Regions from separate parts of the Homo sapiens genome. Here all the other regions are linked to region 1. The links are contacts of gene promoters, found by promoter capture Hi-C in blood cells and fetal thymus (Javierre and others, 2016). All regions are on one chromosome and are shown on one strand. The core of a region is centred on a gene start or on the middle of the fragment in contact, and the rest is flanking DNA. Distances in the headings are between cores, read along the strand shown. Region 1 holds the start of ITGA6-AS1 (ITGA6 and PDK1 antisense RNA 1). Region 2 overlaps SLC25A12 (solute carrier family 25 member 12). Region 3 holds the start of HAT1 (histone acetyltransferase 1). Region 4 overlaps HAT1 (histone acetyltransferase 1).

Region 1 (3,709 bases), core at 84-2,583:
TACTCAATCCAGAAAAATTACTTGTCATCTCAAGGAAACAGAGATGTGGTTTTTGGAATCTTTCAAACATTTGAAACATAAAGTACTTAGCTCTATATAGTTGCCTATTTTGTCCAACAATACCCTTTGCCCTCTCTTGATACCTAGGGTCCTGAATGCAGAAGGTAAGTGAAACTGTAAGACTAAGGGAGCCCTCCAAAATACATCTCTTAAGGCAACAATGTAAAATCTAGTATTCCAAACTGCAGCTACCATCCAAACTAACAAAAAAAATGGGTACTTCTCTATATACTCCCCAATTTTTTTATTTAACAGCATTAAATGTTCTCTTCTTTACTGGAGATGGAAGAAAAAGACTCAGATTTACTTTAGGATCTTGTAGCTGACAATGTATCAATGCCAAACAGGAGAGTTACTGTTAGTCAGAGAGACGGGGACCACAAACACCACCAGGTGCTCATTTCAGTATCAATTTAAACCCACTGTGTGACCTATATCCAAATTTTGCACTCCTCCATAAGTAGCAATACAGACACAGGTTTTAATCTTGAATCATTACAAAAACATTAAACAACTTTAGACAGAAGGAAAAATGCCAAAATGTTAAAAAATAAGTCTAGATACTGAGATTGCCAGTGGGTTTTTTTATTCTTCATAGGTCTGTGTATTTTACCAGCTTCTTAAAATTAACACATATTAGTTTCTAATAAAAGAACACATGTTATTTCTTTTCTTGAGATGGTATCTTGCTCTGTCACCCAGGCTGGAGTGTAGTGGCACGATTTTGGCTCACTGCAGCCTCTGCCTCCCAGGTTCAAACAATTCTCACGCCTCAGCCTCCTAAGTAGCTAGGACTACAGGCGTACACCACCACGCCTGGCTAATTTTTGTATTTTTAGTAGAGATGGGGTTTCACCATGTTGGCCAGGCTGGTCTTGAACTCCTGACCTCAAATGATCCACCCAACTCGGCCTCCCAAAATGCTAGGATTACAGGTGTGAGCCACCGACGCCTGGCCAACAAATGTTATTTCTAAAAGATGAAGAAGCAAGAGAAGAACATAGACACGAATCTGCAAATCTACTTAGACCGAACATATCAAACGAGGTTTGGCTAGAGCTTCTCAGTACACTAATTGCTCTGCTCAACCTACAAGAAGCCAGGTACACTGGATGTCAACATGCCTACCTCATGGTATCTTCTACCTATCCAGAGCCCTTAACAAAACAAGTCTCTATCTGAGACAGGAGGGAAAACTTTATCTCTGTTAGCCAGCTCTCATTCCAAAGGGGTCTGATATTTAAAACTGTCTTTCTCCCAAATATTTTAACAGCATGTGAGAACTTTTGGCTGATGAATACAAGATACGCTCATTCATTCTCTTCATTGCTATGAAATGAGTTTTTCCACAACCTCCTGCAGAACCTCAACACATCACTAGGTGGCAACATCCCTACACCATATCGGTTTAGAAACCACGGTTAGGAGGAGCAGCAAAACACGCGGCATCCCAGTATGATTCAGAAGTAAAGTAAGTAAATATTTTCAGGGCAAATAAAAAACAGTCAAGTCTGATGCAATTAAAAGAAGTCCTCTCTACAAGAATAAATGTTTGTCCCCACTCTCCTCCCTCATGGAAACAGTACAGGCAAGCTGCCGGAGTGAACGCTGAGTGAGGGAAAGGAACGCACCATCGTTATCAAACTCGATCCGCGTGCATGGCCCCCGGGCGGTGATGTCGCAGCTGTACAGCCCTCCCGTTCTGTTGGCTCTCTGCAGTGGAAGCGCTTCTGCCCGCGGGGCCCCCACGAGCAACCTGTTGATGAAACAGAGACAATTTGGAGATTTGAATTTAATATACGTTTAACAGTTAAATCAGTCAGAACTAGGAGATAGTGGGATTATTCTTTGTCTAGGAGTCCACTAATTCTTCAACAGCTTAGGCAGTGAGTGAGAACAAATGTAGAGTCCTATGGCTGGTTCATGCAAAACGCACAAACACAACTAAACAGGGGAAGCCAAAGAGGGGATACCAAAACGAGGAAAATAGGCCTGTCTCTCATAGTATCAGCATTTCTTGCTGGGTATGATCTGGTGTTTAAAAGACACCCTCTTCAAAGAATACAACCTCTAAGCCCCTATGATGCCAGGGATATCATATGAAACTCAAGAGAAGAAACCAAATACTTGTGACAATGGAAGGAAAAAATGGCCACACTAAATGTAATAAGCAATAATATGTCAGTTTCTAACACTGTGCCTTCCTGAGGTAGTTTTCAAGGGTAATTCTGACTATATCTTAGATTTTCAGTTTATATACTAATTGAGAGAACCTAATGGTAAGTAAGATACAACTCGACTGAATTATTCACTTGCAGCCTTGGCCTCTTTCCAATTCTTTTTTTTTTTTCCCTCCAGTTTTATTAGGGTAGAATGGACAAATAAAAAGCAGATATATTTGAGGTGTACAAGTTGATGTTTGTTCTTCCAAGTCAGTTCTTACTTCCTTGCACTTTTGTCACATTACAAGAGTTCGTCCTCTCTCATCCTATCAGTCTCCCACAAAGGATTCAGGGACAACTGGTGTAGCTCCACTTATGTACTAGGCACTGTAATATTCCTTCTTCTCCCCAGCCGAGTGTTTTTATCTCCTATAAGGAGGCCCCCAGTCCAAATCCACAGTCCTTAAAATTTCACCATCTCACAGCTTGACAGGCTCTTTAGAGATCCAATGACCTTGTTGCTAGGTCTCTTTTGCTAACACCTTTACTCACCATCAGGTTTACAATCTTTGAGGCCTGGCTGACTCATGGAACAACTAGGACAAGAAACAAAGACAAAGAACACACACCTGACTGGACAGAGATAAACCAAGAGCTGAGAGTTTTGGAAACAAGGCTGGAGCTGAGGAAAAGGACTGGGAACACGAACCTGTACAAACAACAAATTCTTACAACAGAAAACAAGCCACTCCTGGCCATCAAGAAACCCACAAATCTCAGAAGCAAAAGCAAAACAAATGAAAATACAAACCAAATAGTCTCTATTACCTTCATGCCTGTTGGGTCCCAATAAAGGAATCATTCCAATAAAGGATTCAACATATTTTTTTTAAACCAATATCATGCAGCAGGTGCCACCGGAGGCAAGTGTACCTGGAAAGCAGGGAGGGGGGCCAGATGATGCCCAGACAGAGAAGGAGGGGTGGCTCATGGATAACACATAGCCCCAGCACTGTCCTTCCTCCCAGATCCCTGGACAGTCACAGTCAGCCCCCACCTCCAAACCCACCCTACATTTGAAGGAACAAAACAGCACACACCAAGGTACAGAACTGACACACAGACTTTTAAATTAGGAACTGGAGCAGTGTCCTTGGTGCCTGAACCTTCTTGACAGAGGACAGAGGCAAGGCCGGGGCCACAAGGGTCCCCACAGGTCTGCTCCACTCCTATTCCAGTGATGTCCCCGATCCCAGGAATGCCAACAAACAAGTACCTGGGAGGTGAACTGCCTAGACTATAAGGTGAATGTGTTAAATTACTGTACTTGGCAGATGTCAGAGGTGGAGTCATGTGGAGGGTGCTGGAAGGGATAAGTGGGGTGCCAGGATCAGAGGCCCAGAACCCCAGGACTTTCACACTGGAAGCCCCTGAGAGAGACCAGTCCTCCAGTTTTACAGATAAAGAAACAGAGGCCTTGAGGAGCT
Region 2 (3,709 bases), core at 517-3,016, 580 kb after region 1:
AGACAGGGTTTCACCATCTTGGTCAGGCTGGTCTCGAACTCCTGACCTCAGGTGATCCACCTGCCTCAGCCTCCCAAAGTGTTGGGATTACAGGCATGAGCCACCATGCCCAGCCTTTTCTAAATACTTTAGAAAGTATTTAACATAAACTATATAGAGTTCTCATTAAAAAAAAAAAGAACAGTATTAGGCATTAAAGGCAGACTAGCAGGATAGTGAGACTTTGTCCTTGAATCAAGCAGAAGGATTGAAAAATAATAAAAAGATAAGAAAATTAGTGTTATTAAATGCCATGTGATGTTCTACTACCAATCAATACACTTTTTTTTTTTTTTTGAGACGGAGTCTCTGGGCTCACTGCAAGCTCCGCCTCCCAGGTTCACGCCATTCTCCTGCCTCAGCCTCCCGAGTAGCTGGGACTACAGGCGCCCGCCACCACGCCCAGCTAATTTTTTGTATTTTTAGTAGAGACAGGGTTTCACCGTGTTAGCCAGGATGGTCTCAGTCTCCTGACTTTGTGATCCACCCTCCTCGGCCTCCCAAAGTGCTGGGATTATAGGCGTGAGCCACCGCACCTGGCCGATCAATACACTTTTAATTGCCTACTATGTACCAGGCTAAGCACTGTACTAGGTTCTACCTTTATAGAGATAAGATAGAGCTGTTTAGTGAGGGTAGGGACAATACAAAGGACCTCAGTGAAGGTAGAACCTCACATTCTTTTTTTTTTTTGGTGGGGGACAGAGTTTTGCTCTTGTTGCCCAGGCTGGAGTGCAATGGCGCAGTCTCAGCTCACTGCAACCACTGCATCCCAGGTTCAAGCAATTCTCCTGCCTCAGCCTCCTGAGTAGCTGGGATTACAGATGTGCACCACCACACCTGGCTAAATTTTTTTTGTATTTTTAGTAGAGATGGGGGTATCATCATGTTGGCCAGGCTGGTCTCGAACTCCTGACCTCAGGTGATGTACCTGCCTCGGCCTCCCAAAGTGCTGGGATTACAGATGAGAGCCACCATCCGTGCCCAGCCTAGAACCTAACATTCTAGGGGCGAGGTGGACAATTAAAAAAGCCCACAGAGCAGACCACGAGGTCAGGAGTTCGAGACCAGCCTGGACAACAAGGTGAAACCCCGTCTCTACTAAAAATACAAAAATTAGCCAGGCGTGGTGGCGGGCGCCTGTAATCCCAGCTACTTGGGAGGCTGAGGTGGGAGAATTGCTTGAACCCAGGAGGCAGAGGTTGCAGTGAGCCGAGATCGTGTCATTGCACTCCAGCCTGGGCGACAGAGGAAGACTCAGTCTCGGGGGGAAAAAAAAAAAAGCCCACAGATTGGCTGGGCACACTGGCTCATTCCTGTAATCCCACCTCTTTGGGAGGCTGAAGCAGGAGGATCACTTGAGGCCACTAGTTTGAGACCAGCCTGGCCAAAAAAGTGAGATTCTGTCTCTACAAAAAAAAAAAAAAAGATAAAAAAGAAAAGAAATTAGCCAGGCATGGTGGCCTGTGCTTGTAGTCCTAGCTACTAGGAAGGCTGAGGAAGGAAGATCATGTGAGCCCAGGAGTCTGAGGTTACAGTGAGCTAGGGTCATGCTACTGCACTCCAGCCTGGGTGATAGAGTAAGACCCTGTCTCTTAAAACAAAACAAAAAACAAAACAAACAAAAAAAAGCTTACTACAGATTGTGACACGTCCAAGGAAGTAAACAGAATAATGAGAAGGGCCATCATTTTTTAAATCATTTTTCAAGAGAGTGGTCAGTGAAGGGCCCTTAGGAGGCAATATTAAGAGCTGAGAACTAAAAGGGAATGAGGGTGAAGTGGTGGAGGGAATTCCAAAGGGCTCACACGTACAAAGCTTAGATATAGAAAAGGGTTTGATGTGTTCAACAAACAGAAAGGCCAGTGTGCCTGAAGCATTGGTAATTAAGTATGGGGGTAAATGGCCTCCCAAAGTACTGGGATTACAGGCGTGAGCCACTACGCCTGGCCGATTCTTTCAATTTAATGTCCTCCTGTCTATAGAGTTCCTAGAACATCTTGAGCTGGATGAAACTCCTTTTCATCCAGAGGGCAGCAGAGTGTACCTGGAGCCTACATGGGATTTGTAGTCTAACCTGGGTTTGAATCCTCATTTGAAACCTTTTGAGCTCAGGTGTTTACTTTTGGAGCCTGTTTTCTCATCTGTCTAAGAAGGGATAATGACACCTAGCACATAGGGATGTTCTAAAGATTAAATAAAATAACATGTAAACTATGCAGAACCAAATAAAGCTTAGTTCCTTGTCTCTTTCCTTCTCTTCTAAGTTGAGATTAGGATGTTTTGTTTGTTTCTTGAATAAGATCTGAGTCCCTTGTCTTCTCCAGATGACTATGCTGGACCTAGTCAAGAGACTAAGATGTTAATATGTATTTATGATTATGTACATATAATCAGTTAATTACTTACATTCTTGAGACATCCATCTGAAGTTATTGACAAATACCGATTTCTCTCAAGTCTATGAGGTTCTAAGATGTTGTATAGTCACAGTCTAAGGCTGGGAGACCCGAGAGACCATGGAAGATGTTTGCAGAGTTTTCTTCTGAAACTTCATTCGCTCAGTCTGGACGTGTAAAAGAATAACGGTCCAGCCATAGGCTCTGAAATCCCAAGACACAGACTTGAAAAAATACATATTTTTTTTTTGTGCGTAACTTTCTTTTTTAAAATCACCACCTCCCTGTTCTGTGCAGATTTCTCTTACTTAGTACTGTGGAAATTTCTGAAAGCATCTTCCACTGAAACCATTGCTATGGCCAGCGTTGGGTTTCTAGAACTGGAAGAAACACACATTTTGAAAATATTAGTCAGTACTATTTCAGTCTTCAGTGACAGGAATTTTGGTTAAACATGCGTAGGCTTAGAATGTACTGGCTCTAGCCATGAGTGGATCAGGAGCTTAACTGCTGTCACCAGGGATCATGCACCTTTCATCTCTTAGTTTTGGTTTCTGTTGTGCTAGCTTCATTCTCAAACAGGCTTTGCCATGTGGAGCATCCCCAGATTAAAATCCTACCCATTCAGCAGAGAAAAGGTACTGTTTCTCCAATTTCTAGGTTAAGTCTAGGAATTATTGTCCTCCCTAATACCCCAAGAAAACCCATGTACTAGAAGGAGGCAGTGTTCTCATTGGCCAGATCTGGTTCACATGCTCACCTCTGGAACTGTTCAGTTGAGTCAGCCCCATTTGAATGACCTGTGTAAATTGAGGGTGAGGGAGGTGTGTATGTTCAAGAAAAATTAGCATGCAGTTACCAGAAGGGGGGAAGGAAAGCTAGGCACATTAAAACCAAGAACTGTTTATGTATAGCATATAAGGGATTGGAAAACCTGGAAGCCTAGGGGTGACTCAGGGAGGCTGGGAGACAGAGATGGCAAGAGATTCTGTGCCTCCAAGTCAACACTGCTGTATTTGGTAGCTTTCTAGAACATTCCAGTGCAGCTGTCATACTATCTGCAAAAATACCTTAAGTGAAATGACAAAAAATAACCAAAATTAGGACCCCTGAAGAAGAAATGTATCCTCACCTCATTTTTTCTTCAGAAAAATTTTTTCTCTCAGTCTTCTTTCTAGTCTTTTTCTTATGGTGGTCTTCCTCTCCCCATCTTCTTTTCTGTCCTTACCCTACCCCTCCCATCCCATGGCTCATTATTTTCAGCAGATCTG
Region 3 (3,709 bases), core at 589-3,088, 540 kb after region 1:
GAATCCAGAAGGCAAAGGTTGCCGAGATCGCGCCACTGCACTCCAGCCTGGTGACAGAGCGAGACTCAGTCTCCAAAAAAAAAAAAAATCAGTAAAAATTCAGACAGAAAAAAGCCATAAGCAAAAAATAAAAAGGGGTACAATGATGTGCTATAAACTTCAAAAAGGGGTTAAAACACACACACAGAAAATGGGAAAGACTTGAAGCAGTACAGATTAATAGTCTGGAGTGAGAATTCCTGGATTCTGACTATTTCACACACTTACTGAGCTAGTAAGCTCAGGGAACTAGAGCACATTACTTAACCCCTCTGACCCTAATCTACAGAACCGAGATTACAGAATTTACTTCGAGGAATGTAAGCAACAAAATTTAACCTGTGAAATCATATATTAGCTCAATCTGCACAATTCTATAAGTAGGTATTACATCAACCCCATTTTACATTCAAAAGTTCAGGCTTAGAAAGAGGTTTAGTTGAAGGGCATCCAACTACTAAATGATGGGCCCAAAATTCGAATTTAGATGTAATTCTTAGAGTACGTCCTCCCTCTTCTGTGGTACTTCAAGATCCTACAATCTCCATCTGGTAGAAAAGTCCTTCTTTAAACATCTGTAGAGCTCACACAACAGCTTGTCTATCCCACATATTCATAAAAATGGAATGGTTAATGTAGAGAGACTATGAGGAATGCCCTGTAAAGAGATGATAAAAGCAACAAAGGCCAGCGAAGTGGCTCAATCCTGTCATTCCAACACTTTGGGAAGCTGAGGCGAGAGGATGGCTTGAGGCCAAGAGTTCCAGACCGGCCTGAGGCAATACAGCCAGACTCTGTCTCTAAAAGGTTAAAAAAAATTGTTTTTTTTTAGCCGAATGTTGTGGCGCATGCCTGTAGTCCTAGCTACTCGGGAGGCTGAGGCAAGAGGATCGCTTGAGCCTACGAGGAGTTGGAAGCTGCCCGGAACTATGATCGCTGCACTCCAGCCTGGGCGACAGAGAGACCCTGTCTCAGGAAAAAGAAACTGTCCATAACTTCAAAAGATAAGTAATCGAAAAAAATAATCACACCAAAACAGCCTTAATACACGTACAAAGTAATAGCAATTATACATTATTAAATGTTGTAACTTGAAGGGTCTCTAGAATGTACACAAGAGAATTGTATTATAGTAGTCCAACCCTAAAAGAGAAGGGAGCAGTTCAGGAACAAAGTCTTTCTCAAAGGGCATCTAAATACGATCCTCGGAATACTAAAGTGTGACAGATTAACGAGACGACTACGAAGTCAGTCGAGATCCAAGTGGGAGCGCCAGAGCAGGGCAAGGCAGCAATGCGCTAGCTCAGAAGTTGACTGTAGTGGAAGGTAGACGGAGACCTGGAAGAGGAGGAGGATCTGAGCATTAAAATCAGCTGGCGGGAACAGGACCAGATGTACAAGAGCTGAAGCAAGCAGCAGTGGACAAAAGGAATGGGAAGAGAAACAGGCCCCAAGGCATGTGGCATTTTACGAGCCCAAATCATGACGCTTTTCCCTGGCGTCTTCGGCCCTCGGTAGGGGCCGGATTGCTGGCAGAAGGCGCAGAACCCCAAGCAGTTGGGGGCGGGGGCGCGGACCGCCGCCAACAAGGAGCTGCTGGGCTGAGAGTTCCGCGCTTCCGGTCCCAAGCAGGCCTTCTGGAACCCAGGCTACAGCCCGAAAGTTCTAGGCGGGCATTGTCACCACCGTCTCGGCGTTCTATCCCCGATCTGGCCGCCTCCTCCCCTTGGTAAACTTTTCCCGGTAACTTACCCGCCATTTCCGAGCTACGATCACCCGCGGCTGAGGAAGGACGAATCAACCCGCGCGCTCCCGGGCCGGAAGTGACCGCACAGTCTGACATATTTTCCCCGCCCACTCCCAGCGTGACGTTAGCCAATTAAAGGAGGCGTGTCCAGGAGCCCGGCGGCGGAAGCGCCTCAAGAGGCGGGGCTAACGCCGAGAAGTCTGCGCGGGCCGTTGCCTAGCCACTGCGAATGCCGTCAGCCGCTTTGCAGGCCTGAAGTGGAGAAGGAGGCCGCAAACGGACTTTCGCGGTTGAGATGCTCTCTGGCCCTAGGAAAGTTTCTCTGGGGTTGATTTGATCAATACAGACACTTTACGCCTGTTTTCCATACCCGTCCCTGAGATGTTTTGGAGACTGGCTGAAAATCTTTCCTCTTGGCCTGGACAGTGCATCCAAACACCTGAGCCCTGTGGGCAATTTTACCATTTTACCTAGGTAAAATGTAGAGGTTGAGTTTCAGTTGCGGGAGAAGCTTTCACTTGTTTTCCTCATTTGTTTCTCATTTTGCTGTAAACTTTAACACCTTTTTTCCTTTCTCCCCTGTTTTTAACGTATACAGTATGATATTTAGGTACTCTGCTTTCACTCTGCAGGTTACTAAGAACCGTTTAGCGCGCAAAAATCGTTACCTAGGCCGGGCGCGGTGGCTCACGCCTATAATCCCAGCACTTTGGGAGGCCGAGGCGGGTAGATTGCCTGAGCTCAGGAGTTCGAGACCAGTGTAGCCAACATAGTGAAACCCCGTCTCTACTAAAAATACAAAAATTAGCCAGGCATGGTGGCAGGCGCCTGTAATCCCAGCTACTCGGGAGGCTGAGGCAGGAGAATCGCTTGAACCCTGGAGGCGAAAGTTGCAGTGAGCCGAGATTGCGCCACTACACTCCAGCCTGGGCAACAGAGTGAGACTCCGTCTCAAAAAAAAAAAAAAATTGTTACCTAATAAATACCTCAAGTAGCCTGATGTAGTCTTGCATGCCACATGTCCTAGTGGTTTGAATTACATCACAAGGTGCTACCTGATTTTAGCCATAGGCCTTGTTAGTATTTAGTAGCTGTAGGAACTGCTTTCCCCAGAGGATAAACCACTATTTAGGTATCCACAAATATTCCCACAATGTTGGCTATACACCAGAATTCCTTATCTCAACAAATATTTGTTAACAGGTTTTACAGTGATGCACGCTAAAGCTAAAATGGACCCTTGGGATGATGGTCTAGAACTAACACGCCCTCTCATTTTAGAGATGAGGAAACCAAAGCCCAGAAAAGATAAACTGCCCAAGTTCATTCTCAGTATGCAACCTATGCAGAGTGCAGTTCATCAGATACTCAGCCCAGTATTTATTTGCTCAACTATATAGAGATGGCTTTCCTGAAGATAAAGATCAGAAAAGGTACTGAGAATGCCCAGATCCTTTTTCTTTCTTTTTTTTTTTTTTTTTTTTAGACGGAGTTTCACTCTTGTTGCCCAGGCTGGAGTGCAATGGCACAATCTCAGCTCACCACAGCCTCCGCCTCCCGGGTTCAAGCGATTCTTCTGCCTCAGCCTCCTGAGTCGCTGGGATTACAGGCATGCGCCACCACACCCAGCAATTTTGTATTTTTGTAGAGACGGGGTTTCTCCATGTTGGTTAGGCTGATCTCGAACTCCCAACCTCAGATGATCTGCCCATCTCGGCCTCCAAAAGTGCTGGGATTACAGTCGTGATCCCAAGAAAAGGTTTCAAGATCCTTTTTCTTGAAACCTAATGATACACAAGAAATTACAGTCATAGGCCGGGCGTGGTGGCTCACGCCTGTAATCCCAGCACTTTGTGATGCCGAGGCGGGCGGATCACGAGATCAGGAGATCCAGACCATCCTGACTAACATGGTGAAACCCTG
Region 4 (3,709 bases), core at 840-3,339, 520 kb after region 1:
GTTTTTGTTTTTTTGAGACAGTCTCGCTCTGTCGCACAGGCTGGAGTGCAGTGGCATGATCTCGGCTCACTGCAACCTCTGCCTCCCAGGTTGAAGTGATTCTCCTGCCTCAGCCTCCCGAGTAGCCAGGACTACAGGCGTGTGCCACTACACCTGGCTAATTTTAGTATTTTTAATAGAGACGGGGTTTCACCATATTAGCCAGGCCGGTCTGGAACTCCTGACCTCAGGCAATCTGCCCGCCTCAGCCTCCCAAAGTGTTGGGATTACAGGCATGAGCCACTGCGCCTGGCCTGGGACATATATTTAAAGTTCCTTCTAAAAAATAAACTTCAGGGCAGGTACAGTGGTTCATGCCTGTAGTCCCAGCTCTTTGGGAGGCGCAGGTGGGAGGATCACTTGAGGCCAGGAGTTCAAGGCCAGCCTGGGCAACATAGGGAGACCCAATCTCTACAAAAAATTTTTTAAAAAAAGCCAGGCATGATGGTGTGTGCCTGTAGTCCCAGCTACTCGGAGGCTCAGGTGGGAGGACTGCTTATGCCCAGGAGGTTCAGGCTGCAGTGAGCTTTGATCACACTACTGCACTCCAGCCTGGGTGACACAGCGAGACCCTATCTCAAAAATAAATAAATAAATAATAAATAAATAAACTTCTCTCAACTGCTTATTTGATCATAGAATAACAACTTAAGCTTTCTATTACAGCTTTAGGGGAATACATGCTACTAGAAGTAATTTAGCAAAATGGTAGCAGAAAAAAGTAGTAGTTATGATTATGGGCTCTGGAGTCAGATTGCCTAAAATCTATACTCCAGCCATTTGTATGTTCATGAACAATTATCCAATTCTATCAATGCACAAAGCAGCAAATAATAATACCATCATTAATACTGCTGTGAGAATTAAATAATGCATTTACAGCACTAAATGGTAGGTATTAAAATAACTGGTGTCTCAATGTAAAAAAACACCATTATAACATATATTTTAAGATAAACCACATTAAAAATAAGAAGAAAATAAAATTTGATTTCTAAATCTAAAAGAAAAAGAATGAAAATTTTTTTTTCCATACTAATTTGACAAATATTTTACTAAGTTACTTACTCATCCCCAAAGAGTTGATGGGTATACTCAGGAAAGAAAGTTCTAATGTCATTTTCAAGATCTTCAGGAAAACGAACTGTTTCAAGGGACAAAAAAATAGAGATATTAAAGATAACTAAAGATATTGAAGGTGACAGGTATTCCTATTTCATGAGTTTCAGTATAACTAGGATACAGCCAACATTTTTCTTACTAAAAGTGTCATTTCACCATTATATGATTTATTTACACTGTATTCTCAAGAGACTAGTGAACAAAGAAAATTAAAATATTACTTTGAGTGCTTCAGCGTCAAAACCCTACTTATTCTAAGAATCAGAAGGCTAAGTATGACAGAGGCACCTCATTTAGTTTTTATTTTTCCATGTTTATGCACAATGCAATGAGTAAAGGAAAAACAAAAAGACACTTTGAGGTAAGAAGTTACAGCAAATGAAAACAGAATGCTGTAAGAAACATTCTGATAATAACAATAACCTGAGTTTGATGAAGTCATTCTTTTTGACTGCTAGATGACATTTATGTTGTTCTCATGTTTGTTTTTTGCTATTAAAAATAACACTGCAATGACATCCTTATATACATCCTGCTGTACTTTTATAAGTATACACAGGGGAAATTCCTGGCAGCAGAAAACTAGGGGGAGAGTACTGAAATATTTGTATAAATATTGCTAAAGTGGCCAGGTGCAGTGGCTCATGCCTGTAATCCCAGCACTTTGGGAGGCCAAGGCAGGTGGATCATCTGAGGTCAGGAGTTCACGCCCAGCCTGGCTGACATGGTGAAACCATCTCTACTAAAAATTCAAAAATTAGGCTGGGCACAGTGGCTCATGCCTGTAATCCCAACACTCTGGGAGGCTGAGGTGGGCAGATTACCTGAGGTCAGGAGTTCAAGACCAGCCTGGCCAACATGGTGAAACCCCATCTCTACTAAAAATACAAAAATTAGCCGGGCATGGTGGCACACAACCTGTAATCCCAGCTACTTGGGAGGCTGAGGCAGGAGAACTACTTGAGCCCAGGAGGCGGAGGTTGCAGTGAGCCGAGATCGTGCCACTGCACTGCAGCCTGGCCAAGAGAGCGAGACTCTCTCTCAAAAAAATAAATAAATAAATAAATAATTGGCTAGCCATGGTGGCGCATGCCTGTAGTCCCAGCTACTTAGAGGGCTGAGGCAGGAGAATCGCTTAAATCCAGGAGGTAGAGGTTGCAGTGAGCCAAGATCATGCCACTGCACTCCAGCCTGGGCGACAAAGACTGTCTCAAAAAAAAAAAAAAAAAAATTATAGATAGCTAGCTAGCTAGCTAAAGTGCCCTATAAAAATATTGTAACAGTTTATACACCCACAAGCAGTTTATATACCCATAGCTTGTAGACTCCTTTGCTCCCTACATCCTTGAGAACACTCTGCTGTACTCAAGGATACTCTGTACCCTCGACTTCAATTTCTATCAATCTAAGATGGAATGGGTATCCTTTTATTATTTTTATTTGTATTTGTTGTGAGTACTGAAATACTAGATAGTTCCCTGATAAAATTTATCTTAGGAAGAAAATTTTATTCATTAAAAAATTCTTAAGCAATTGAAGAATGTAAAGAAAAATTGGAGGGCTGGGCGCGGTGGCTCACACCTGTAATCCCAGCACTTTGGGAGGCTGAGGCAGGCAGATCACTTGAAGTCAGGAGTTCAAGACCAGCCTAACCAATATGGTGAAATGCCATCTCTACTAAAATACAAAAATTAGCCAGGCATGGTGGTAGGTCCCTATAATCCCAACTACTCTGGAGGCTGAGGCATGAGAATCGCTTGAACCTGGGAGGAGGAGGTTGCATTGAGCTGAGATTGTGCCACTGCGCTCCAGCCTGGGTGATCGAGCGAGACTCCGTCTCAGGGGGAAAAAAGAAGATAAACTGTAGATGAAAAATTTCTAACACTGTCCTCACAGACCAGGTCACTCCCTGCATGCCAAAGTATCACCAGCATATTACTAATTTACAGAAGAAAAGGTATATTTTCACTGTAGAGATCTGGTAGTCACCTCCTTTCCAAATGATCTAACTTAGCATCATTCATTGTGGGACAGAACAACATTATGTGCCTCCTGATTCAATGCAATATGAAGTACAGTCATCCCTCAGTATACTCAAGAGACTGGCTCTAGGACCCCTGACTGTACCAAAATCCATCATACTCAAGTCCTGTAGTTCTGTCTGGTGTCCCACTGTACTTTCTATCTGCATTTGGTAGGAAAAAAAGTCCATGTGTAAGTGGACCCACACAGTTCAAGTCGTGTTGTTCAAGGACCAACTGTATGCTGCATCACCCATGAAGTTTTCTCACCAAAAATTTTTATCTTAAATCTAATCAAGCTTTTTACCTTCCAATTCACAGGAAATACAGAGGATAGAGGAGGAAGTTAAACTAATATCAAAAGGAAATACACAAATCCAGAATGTACATTTATCTGTGCAATGACTTTACTCTCCCAAATAAATCAATGTCATGTAGGGGAAAAGTTGCATGTGGACGGAAAGGGACTGCTCTGTATTAAAAGAGATTATTTAAGAAACATTACAACTAAATGCAGTGCACAATCC

Evidence for each region. The method cuts DNA at HindIII sites, captures the fragments that hold promoters and counts their contacts. A CHiCAGO score of 5 or more calls a contact.
Region 2: a fragment that was not itself captured here is called in contact with the fragment with the promoter of ITGA6-AS1 in region 1 in 1 of 17 cell types (activated CD4 T cells); the score reaches 6.5 in activated CD4 T cells.
Region 3: a contact is called between the fragment with the promoter of HAT1 here and the fragment with the promoter of ITGA6-AS1 in region 1, in 2 of 17 cell types (naive CD4 T cells and total CD8 T cells). The highest score is 6.2, in naive CD4 T cells.
Region 4: a fragment that was not itself captured here is called in contact with the fragment with the promoter of ITGA6-AS1 in region 1 in 1 of 17 cell types (total CD8 T cells); the score reaches 5.0 in total CD8 T cells.

Annotation. Positions count from the first base shown.
Region 1 is chr2:172,463,646-172,467,354 of GRCh38, reverse strand. It overlaps ITGA6-AS1 (ITGA6 and PDK1 antisense RNA 1), which reads left to right and starts at 1,333. Exons shown (of 2, transcript NR_157573.1): 1 at 1,333-1,531; 2 at 2,781-3,093. ITGA6 (integrin subunit alpha 6) reads right to left here. Exons shown (of 26, transcript NM_000210.4): 2 at 1,692-1,816. PDK1-AS1 (PDK1 and ITGA6 antisense RNA 1) reads left to right here. Exons shown (of 4, transcript NR_199657.1): 4 at 2,781-3,089. RefSeq lists an enhancer at 923-1,092. The HindIII fragment of the contact is 13,641 bases long and covers 1-3,709 here.
Region 2 is chr2:171,881,804-171,885,512 of GRCh38, reverse strand. The region is part of intron 2 of SLC25A12 (solute carrier family 25 member 12); the gene reads left to right. Among named protein-coding and RNA genes, the nearest start is that of SLC25A12, 11 kb to the left of the region's middle. The HindIII fragment of the contact is 186 bases long and covers 1,674-1,859 here.
Region 3 is chr2:171,920,590-171,924,298 of GRCh38, reverse strand. It overlaps HAT1 (histone acetyltransferase 1), which reads right to left and starts at 1,838. Exons shown (of 11, transcript NM_003642.4): 1 at 1,792-1,838. The coding sequence starts at 1,798. It overlaps LOC105373740 (a long non-coding RNA gene), which reads left to right and starts at 1,910. Exons shown (of 3, transcript XR_923579.2): 1 at 1,910-2,260; 2 at 3,068-3,219. RefSeq lists enhancers at 1,564-1,613, 1,754-2,402. The HindIII fragment of the contact is 14,743 bases long and covers 1-2,299 here.
Region 4 is chr2:171,944,182-171,947,890 of GRCh38, reverse strand. HAT1 (histone acetyltransferase 1) reads right to left here. Exons shown (of 11, transcript NM_003642.4): 3 at 1,108-1,183. Among named protein-coding and RNA genes, the nearest start is that of HAT1, 24 kb to the right of the region's middle. The HindIII fragment of the contact is 2,789 bases long and covers 695-3,483 here.